Regions from separate parts of the Homo sapiens genome. Here regions 1 and 3 are each linked to region 2. The links are contacts of gene promoters, found by promoter capture Hi-C in human tissues and cell types (Jung and others, 2019). All regions are on one chromosome and are shown on one strand. The core of a region is centred on a gene start or on the middle of the fragment in contact, and the rest is flanking DNA. Distances in the headings are between cores, read along the strand shown.

What was found. Contacts are between HindIII fragments. The study calls those that stand out against the background at their distance.
Region 1: a contact is called between a fragment that was not itself captured here and the fragment with the promoter of IL17RA in region 2, in 1 of the 25 tissues and cell types used here (lymphoblastoid cells).
Region 3: a contact is called between a fragment that was not itself captured here and the fragment with the promoter of IL17RA in region 2, in 1 of the 25 tissues and cell types used here (spleen).

What each region holds. Positions count from the first base shown.
Region 1 is chr22:17,444,635-17,447,873 of GRCh38, forward strand. All of the region lies in intron 1 of CECR2 (CECR2 histone acetyl-lysine reader), which reads left to right. Among named protein-coding and RNA genes, the nearest start is that of CECR2, 77 kb to the left of the region's middle. The HindIII fragment of the contact is 6,148 bases long and covers 1-3,239 here.
Region 2 is chr22:17,083,472-17,086,647 of GRCh38, forward strand. It overlaps IL17RA (interleukin 17 receptor A), which reads left to right and starts at 1,529. Exons shown (of 13, transcript NM_014339.7): 1 at 1,529-1,758. The coding sequence starts at 1,621. RefSeq lists an enhancer at 589-758 and silencers at 1,312-1,531, 1,552-1,671, 1,922-2,021, 2,062-2,311. The HindIII fragment of the contact is 17,220 bases long and covers 1-3,176 here.
Region 3 is chr22:17,592,988-17,596,286 of GRCh38, forward strand. It overlaps ATP6V1E1 (ATPase H+ transporting V1 subunit E1), which reads right to left. Exons shown (of 9, transcript NM_001696.4): 8 at 1,542-1,629. Among named protein-coding and RNA genes, the nearest start is that of SLC25A18, 31 kb to the left of the region's middle. The HindIII fragment of the contact is 3,516 bases long and covers 1-3,088 here.

The DNA of each region.
Region 1 (3,239 bases), core at 729-3,228, 360 kb after region 2:
ACTACCACCATCAAGATTTCTCATGGGAGAAGTCATACAAAATGAGAAATTGCAATAGCGTCCTTTTCACACCAAACTGAACCCAGCCTAGAACTAATCCTGAAAGAACTAGTCAGGGCAAGCTAAGGCTTAAACAGAAGTAAATATTTTTCTTCTACTCAAAATCAAAGGGTTAGTAAAAGCTTTCAGTAGGAGCACCGTTGGGTTTACTGTGTTAATTACATCAGGATAGTAGCAGTACTTTTCCAGGAAGGTGATACAGATAATAATCTGATCGCTAAACCAAAAAGAATATTCCACAAAAAAACCAAGTATCCTTACTATGAAAAATAATGTGCTGATTTCTCTTTGAAGAACTGATTTGATCTTTGACTTCTCAAACAGCTATAATTTTATTTTTCTCTTTATTTTGCTACTTTTATATCCTTAAATGCTTTTGAATACTATAGTACATATTCACAATTTGGATTTGTTAGACTATTCATATACCTCATATTAAGTTATAAGTCTAATTGTTGTATGTAAGGGAAGCATTATACTTTATGACCTAAGATCTATAGGTTTTCATTTCCTTGAGAAGAATTTGATGCAGCCAGGTGTGGTAGCTCATTGCGTGTAACCTCAGCACTTTGGGAGGCTGAGGTCAGAGGATTGCTTGAGGCCAGGAGACCAGTCTAGGTGACAGAGCGAGACCCTGCCTCTAGAAAATAATAAATGAACTCATGAATTGGATGCCATAACAGTTTAATTGGTTCAAGAGCCTTGCTGTTCAAAGTGCAGTCATCTCTAAGTTTCCATGGGGGATTGATTTCAGGACCCCTGTGGATACCAAAATTCGTGGATGCTCAATTTCCTTATATAAAATGGTATAGTATTTACATATAACCTATGCACATTCTGCTCTATACTTTATTATTATTATTATTATTATTATTATTATTATTATTATTATTATTATTTGAGGCAGAGGCTCACCCTGTCGCCCAGGCTGGAGTGCAGTGGTGCAATCTTGGCTGACTGCAATCTTGGCTGACTGCAACCTCTGCCTCCCAGGTTCGGGCAGTTCTCCTGTCTCAGCCTCCTGAGTAGCTAGGATTACAGGCGGGCACCACCATGCCTGGCTAATTTTTGTATTTTTAGTAGAGATGGGGTTTTGCCATGTTGGCCAGGCTGGTCTCGAACTCCTGACCTCAAGTGATCCTCCTGCCTCAGCCTCCCAAAGTGCTGGGACCCTGCACCTGGCCACTGCTGTATACTTTAAACCATCTCTAGATTACACAATGTAAATGCTATAATGCTATATGCATAGCTGTTACACCATGTTGGTTTTTTATTTGTATTATTCCCGAATGTTTTCTGTTCATGGTTGGTTGAATCTGCCAGCATGGGCCCTGTGGATGTGGAGGGTGAACTGCACAGTCCTTGGATCAATGGTGCCAGCATCACCTAGGAGCTTGTTTACAGATACCTCACTCCAGACCTAGATGAATCAAAATAGCCATTAAAAAAAACTCAGGAGGTGCTTTCTGTGCACACTGAAAAACACTGTTCTGGAGCAGTAGTTGTTTTATTTTAGCTACACTTAAAAATCCCAAGTCAGGTGTTGCGGCACATGCCTATAGTCCCAGCTGTTCAGGAGGCTGGGGCAGGAGGATTGAGTGAGCCTAGGAGCTATGATTAGCTATGATTGTGCTGTGTCCAGAGTTGGTTCCTTCCGGTGGGTTCTTGGTCTCACTGACATCAAGAACGAAGCCACGGAACTTAGCGGTGAGTGTTACAGCTCTTAAAGGTGGTGTGGACCCCCAGGGCGCGGTGGCTCTTGCCTGTAATCCCAGCACTTTGGGAGGCCGAGGCGGGCGGATCACGAGGTCAGGGGATCGAGACCATCCTGGCTAACACGGTGAAACCCCGTCTCTACTAAAAATACAAAAAATTAGCCGGGTGTGGTGGCGGGCGCCTGTAGTCCCAGCTACTCAGGAGGTTAGGAAGGAGAATGATGTGAACCTGGGAGGTGGAGCTTACAGTGAGCTGAGATCCTGCCACTGCACTCCAGCCTGGGTGACAGAGCGAGACTTTGTCTCAAAAACAAAACAAAACAAAAAGGTGGTGCAGACACAAAAGAGTGAGCAGCAGCAAGATTTATTATGAAGACCGAAAGAACAAAGCTTCCACAAAGGGGATGCGAGCAGGTTGCCGCTGTGAGGTGGCCAGCTTTATTCCCTTATTTGGCCCCGCCCACATCCTGCTGATTGGTCCATTTTACAGAGCGCTGATTGGTCCATTTTACAGAACACTGGTGCATTTTTACACAGTGCTGATTGGTGTGTTTACAGTTCTTTAGCTAGACACAGTGCCGATTGGTGCATTTTTACAGAGTGCTGAGTGGTGCGTTTACAATCTTTTTTTTTTTTTTTTTTTGAGACAGAGTCTCGCTGTCTTGCCCAGGCTGGAGTGCAGTGACGGGATCTCTGCTCACTGTAAGCTCCGCCTCCCGGGTTCACGCCATTCTCCTGCCTCAGCCTCCCGAGTAGCTGGGACTACAGGTGCTGGCCACCATGCCCGGCTAATTTTTTGTGTTTTTTAGTAGACGGGACTGCAAGCTCCGCCTCCTGGGTTCTCGCCATTCTCCTGCCTCAGCCTCCCGAGTAGCTGGGACTACAGGCACCTGCCACCACGCCCAGCTAATTTTTTGTATTTTTTAGTAGACACGGGGTTTCATCGTGTTATCCAGGATGGTCTCGATATCCTGACCTCGTGATCCACCCACCTCGGCCTCCCAAAGTGCTGGGATTACAGGCGTGAGCCACCGTGCCCGGCTGTTTACAATCCTTTAGCTAGACACAGAGTGCTGATTGGTGCGTTTACAGTACCACTGCACTCCAGCCTGGGCAACAGAGCAAGAACTTGTCATTCATTCATTAGTTCATTCATAAATAGTAATTAATAAAATAAAATCACATAGGAGTAATAAATAAAATAAAATCACATATTATGCCTGAGTCCCATGCCCAGAGACTTAAAAAAAAAAAAGAAAAGCCGGGGGTCGGGGGCGGTGGGGGGCTTTAGTTTACTCATTAGGATCTAAAAAGTTCTCCGTGGCAGTTTTAGTGTGCAGCCAGGATTGAGAACAATTGTTCAGAGCCCTGTTGTCCAATGTATTAGCCACTGGCAGCTGTGTAAGTTTACCTTAAATAAAATGTAAAGATTAGTTCTCTAGCCATGGTAGCCACATTTCAAGT
Region 2 (3,176 bases), core at 279-2,778:
CGCGAGGAGGATTCAGAAGGTCGTGACTCCCAGGGGGTGGGATCCTAGAACACATCTTAGAAGCTGCCTACGACAACCGCTGATTTTTAAGTAACAGTTACATCCTCTACATCTATTTAGACTTAGGATGGAGAATTTTAGATGTCATCTTTAAAATGCATGAGAGGATGCAGTTTTCCAAAATTCTTTTAGAAACAGACAATTTGAAGGCCACTGAGCTTCAGGCTTCATTCAGCTGGGTCGTGTCTGCGGGCGGGGCTCATAGAGATGTCGCTGGGGGTCAGCGGGTGCTTCGGGCAGCGAAAAAACCCACCTCTCGAGGGCAGTGGAAAATACAGGGAAAAGCCACTTGAGTGTAGACTCCGTGCGTGTCAAGGCCAGGCAGAGGCGCACTTGATAGGCAAGGAAAAGCGGACGGTGGTGGTCTTGGGAGGAAGAGAGGAGAGGCGAATGGGCAGGAGCGTGTGGATGCACTAGGGCAGGACGGGCTCGAAGCAGGAACCTAGGATAGAGGCAGCGCGGGCCGGCTTGGGAGGGTCCTCCAGGGTCCGGAGAGGAGAGGACGCAGGCTGCACGCGTGCTAAGAAGGAGACTCATGAAATGTGTAATTCGCTGGCGACAGCTTCCGCGGCCGTGGAGTGAGCCTCTGGGAAGTAACGACTCTCTTAGGTGCGGCTGGGACACAGTCTCACAGACCAGGTAAGTTGCCTGCCCTCCAGGAACTCAAGTGTCCCCGAGTCCGAGCCAGGAGGCTGGAAGTGACTGCTGTCCCATCCTCCCTGGAGCCCGGAGCTGTCCTTGTCTTGAGAAAGAGAAAGCAAAGCCAAGGAAAGCAGAGCGAGCAGAACCAGGCAAAGGGGTGGGGACAATAAAATGGGATATGGCCCGCGCTTCCATCTACTCAGGAGGCAGAGGCAGGAGGATCGCTTGAGCCCGGGAGGCCGAAGCTGCAGTGAGCTGCGGTTGCACCACTGCACTCCAGCCTGGGAGACAGAGGGAGACCCTGTCTAAAAATAAAGTAAAATAAAAAACAAAAATAAAAGGGACAGAGACTAAGAAAACGGACTTCCTGAAATCCCAAGTTGGGATTTCACGTCCAGTGACCCACAAGAGAAGCAAGAAGTCTGAACAGGGCCAAGAATCAAGTGAGTGGGGGCGGAGGATTAAAATCGACAGTTGCTGCGGCACGGCCAGGGTGGAGGGTGCATGTGGGGCAGGCGAGGCTCCAGCTGGAGTTGACGCTAGCCCGACGCGGGTGCAACTGGAGGCGCGACGGGCCAGGCCCAGGAGCAGCGGGAGGAGCGCACCTGGGGCGCGCGGGCGGAGGAGGGCCGGGGAGGGACGCCGGAAGGACTGGGTAGGGACGCCCGGAGGACTGAGCGTAGGGCCGAGAGGAGGGGCGCAAGGAGGAACGGGGGGAGGGCCCTGTCTCACCCTAAACCCCTCCCCGTCCCAGACTAAACTCCTCCCCTCGGCCCGGCCCGCCCCTGGGCCCGGGCTGGAAGCCGGAAGCGAGCAAAGTGGAGCCGACTCGAACTCCACCGCGGAAAAGAAAGCCTCAGAACGTTCGTTCGCTGCGTCCCCAGCCGGGGCCGAGCCCTCCGCGACGCCAGCCGGGCCATGGGGGCCGCACGCAGCCCGCCGTCCGCTGTCCCGGGGCCCCTGCTGGGGCTGCTCCTGCTGCTCCTGGGCGTGCTGGCCCCGGGTGGCGCCTCCCTGCGACTCCTGGACCACCGGGCGCTGGTCTGCTCCCAGCCGGTGAGACTCGACGTGGGGAGCGGTAGCCGCCAGGATGCTGCGGACGCGGGGCAAGGTCGCGGAGGGCCGGACGGTCGGGACTACGCGCCCGGGCTGGGGAGGCAGGAAGTCCGCGCCGCGGGCTTAGAGGGGCTCAGAGCCTTGGGCACAGATATCGCGGCGCCTGGGGAGGACCCTCGGAGCGGTGGGAGTTGCGGTGTGGAATACGGGGGGGGTGGGTGGCACATCGCGCGGCGCGTGTTGCACAACCTGGCCCGCCGTCGTGACTGGAGGCGGGAGTGACACCTCCGCCCGGGCCGCGGAGTTCGGGGAAGGAGGGCGCGGCGCTGGGCCAGGCCGGAGGGGCGGCCAGGGCTGATAGAAAGGGGCTGTGGAGAAGGGGCCCGGGGAGGAGCCAGGACGGGTCTGGACCCAGCTCCACGCCTTGCGCCCCTCACGTACCCCGGCGGGGCACGGTCGGCCCTCGGGAGGCCCATCGCGCCCTCGGGAGCTTCCCTCAAGCCGTGCCCTTCATGCCGCCGACGGAGCCGGGCGAGCCCACGTCGTCCGTGCGGAAGGTGGAGTCCCTCACCCGCGGCCCCCAGAGGGACCCCGCTGTCGTAGAGCCACGCGGGGGCCGGAGCGCTGAGACGCGGCACCATGTTTCGGGGAGAGCTCTGCCGAGGGCGGCTGAGGGCCACCTCCCCAGAGGCGCGAAGCCCTGAGGATGGGCAGATGGTTCTTAAGACGGCGCCCTTCCCGCCACTCCCACCCCCGACTACCACCACCTGGGTCTGGGAACCCGGTGAGAGCGCAGTCGGAGGGTCGAACGTTTGTAGCTGTCAAGTCGTAGCCCCGCTGCGCCCACAGGAAGTGACCCACCCGCCTGCCGGGTAGTGGCCTTTCTGTGAGCCAGGACCATCTTAAGGAAAAAAACAAAAAAAGAGCAAAACGCCGTGCCCCTCCACAATATACTCTCCTCTTCCCCGCATCCCCGAGGGGATCTTTCCTCCCCTCCACCTCCACCTCCACCTCCACCGCTGACCCCAAGGAATAATGCTCAGTATCTGAGTCAGAGGATGTAAAACAAAGGGATATTTCTCCTTATGTAGTTTTATGGAGGATTTACCGAAAGAAGGTGGAGGGTGAGTGACTATGTCGCAGAAAAAAAAAAAAAGATGTTTTTATCGTGAATGATGTTGAGAAATGTCCTGTGACTTCCACTATTGGGCAAAGCAGGTCCCTCTGCCCTGCTAGTCCCTCCTGCAGGCTGTGTATGAAGCGTTCTGATATGGAGGGTTGGTGCGCCTGGGTTGACAGCCATTGGTCAGGTGCCTGCAGAGTACAGGGCGCCATACTGGGAACTGGAACTATAAATAAATACTCTGGGGACCCTAATATCCAGAGACCTAACCCATCTACGGGAGGAACAAGGCTTG
Region 3 (3,299 bases), core at 81-2,580, 510 kb after region 2:
CCATGTTAGCCGGGATGGTCTCGATCTCCTGACCTCGTGATCCACCCGCCTCGGCCTCCCACAGTGCTGGGATTACAGGCGTGAGCCACCAAGCCTGGCCAGAGTGCTGCACATCTTAACCACAGGTGGAAAGCCATGAACCTCTATGTGGCTGGGAAGGACTCACAAAGCCACGCACATCAAAGCCACCCTCTCCTTCCCTGAAGCAAGTAACACATTCCTTGGTGAGAAACTTAACTCATCCCAAATCTGGGGTTCAGACTGCTTACAAAAGGGACACATTAAAAAAAAACAAAACAAAAAAAAACCTAAAGTCACTACTATCTCAGACTTAACTCATCATAATCATCTCACCACAATATGCTGGGTCACCTACACTCTTTCTTCAACAAACATTTACTGAGTGCCTACTATGGCCACAGCAGCTGCAAAGAACACTTCCAATGCCAGCTTAGGCTGGAAGCACTTGCTACAGCCACTGATGAATCCTTAGGAGAACTTAACCCTGGACTTCCAAGGCTCGGCTGTCCAACAGGGCAGTCCTAGCTACAGATGGTTATTGTGTGCTGAGAAACTGAATTTTTCGGTTTAATTAAATATCCGTAAGTGAGTAGTGGCTATGATACTGGATGGGACAGTGGCTACTAGGAAACAATGTTCTGAGGTTTAAGTTACCAGAATATGAAAAAATCAAGGTGAAAGTGCTTTAGTTATAAGACAAGTATCTGCATAAACAGTAAACTGCATATCTAGGTCAGGGAATAACTAGGTTGGCAGCCACAGCAATAGACTCCCACTAGAAGTCTAGAAGATGCCCAGCATTTTAGAACAAATGGAATTTTCCTGGCTTGTTTCCTAGAGTTCCTGTGTACAAATCTGGAAACATCTGAAAAGCCAGCAGCTTTATGATAATTCCTTTAAATAAGTATTTGTGTCTGAGCACGGTGGCTCACACCTGTAATCCCAGCACTTTGGGAGGCCAAGGCGGGTGGATCACCTGAGGTCAGGAATTTGATAACAGCCTGGCCAACATGGTGAAACCCCGTCTCTACTAAAAATACAAAATTAGCCGGGTGTGGTGGCAGGTGCCTGTAATCCCAGCTACTCGGGAGGCTGAAGCAGGAGAATCGCTTGAACCTGGGAGGTGGAAGTTGCAGTGAGCCAAGACTGCACTCCAGCCTGCGCAAAAAAGAGTGAAACTCCATCTCAAAAAAGCAAAACAAAACAAAAAAACACAAGTATTTGCTTTAGTTCCCATCACTCCTGTTAGAGAAAGAACTTGTCAGCACCTTACATGTAGTAAAATGTACATATTCGAATCCTAGGTCAACAAAACACTTGTTCTGACCCCAAATTCACCCTCATGTAAATGTTACCACCTCAGCAAATGCTACTACATGCCCAATTCTCATTCTTTTTGAGAAAATGTCCAAAACTGGAAAGACAGCAACAAATCCCAAATACCAGTGAATGGACACGTGTTCTCTGTCCCACTTCAAAGTAACAGCAGACCAACTACCAAGAAGTACCCCCACACTCACCTGCTGGGCTATGAGATCCAGCCGGCTTTCCAGGGTGTTGGAAACCTTTATTTTACGATCTCCATTATAGATCTCAACTCCACCAGCTCTGCAAAAAAAAAAGCACAGGAAATAATCATTTTCAAAGACTTGAGAAAGATACATGGTACCCTTTACTCCCGCAGAGGAATGCCCTTGTCTTGGTGTGTAGACTGCGCAACCTAAGCAACAGGCTTGAAAGGAACTGAAAAAGCTTCTGAAGATGTAACGCACAGTTGGTTTCAGGAAACCCCAGTCCCCGCCTAGATGTCCATTATATGAAACAGCGTAGTATTTGCATACAACCATCACACATCCTCCCCTATATTGCAAATCATGTCTACAGCACTTAAAATAGCTAATACGATGTAAATGGTTGTTATACCGTAGTGTTTAGGGAGTGAAAAGAAAAAGTTGGTTGAATTCACAGGTGTGGACCCCAAAGATACAGAGAACTGACTGTATTCATCTCAATAACTGTCATTTACCAAGTGACACTATGTGTCAATTTGTTTTGTTTTTTTTGAGACTCGCTCTGTTGCCCAGGCAGGAGTGCAATGGTGCGATCTTGGCTCACTGCAACCTCTGCCTCCCGAGTTCAAGCAATTCTCCTGCGTCAGCCTCCCCAGTAGCTGGGATTACAGGCACCTGCCATCACGCCTGGCTAATTTTTGTATTGTTGTAGAGACGGGGTTTCACCATGTTGGCCAGGCTGGTCTTGAACTCCTGACCTCAGGTGATCCGCCCACCTCTGCCTCCACAAGTGTTGGGATTACAGGAGTGAGTCACCGCGCCCAGCCTGTGTCAATTTGATTTTATGTTACAAAACCTGTTTTAATTATCACAGCCAGCCCTCCCCAACAAAATGAAAAAGAGAGGATTTCATCTCAGTTTGCAAATCACTCAATCCTCATCTGAATGTTTTCTTAAGCCCAATCCTGCTCATTACTGATGAGGCCCTATCACGACTGCATGTGTGTCTGATAAAAGATGCCACTGCTGGCCGGGCGTGGTAGCTCACCCCTGTAATCCCAGCACTTTGGGAGGCCGAGGTGCTCCCAAACTCAAGTTTGAGGCCAGCCTGGCCAACATGGCGAAAGCCTGTCTCCACTAAAAATACAAAAATTAGCTGGGCATGGTGGGGCGTGCCTGTAGTCCCAGCTACTTGAGAGACTGAGGCAGGAGAATTGCTTGAACCCAGGAGGCAGAGGTTGCAGCAAGCCGAGATCACACCACTGCACTCCAGCTTGGGTGACAGAAAGAGACCCTTACTCAAAATACAACAACAACAACAAAAAAAGAGGCTGGGTGCGGTGGCTCACGCCTGTAATCCCAGCTCTTTGAGAGGCCGAGGTGGGCAGATCACGACATCAGGAGATTGAGACAATCCTGGCTAACAAGGTGAAACCCCGTCTCTACTAAAAATACAAAAAAAATTAGCGAGGCATGGTGGCGGGTGCCTGTAGTCCCAGCTAATCGGGAGGCTAAGGCAGGAGAATGGTGTGAACCTGGGAGGTGGAGCTTGCAGTGAGCCGAGGTCGTGCCACTGCACTCCAGCCTGGGTGAGAGTGAGACTCTGTCTCAAAAAATAAATAAATAAATAAATAAGATAAAAAATGCTATGAGGTTAGTGCTAATACGTCAATTTACAGATAAGGGAATCAGGGCTCACTACTATGGTTTGAGTCTGTTCCCTCAGAAACTAATGGTGAAATTTGATTCTCAATGTGGCAGTGTTGG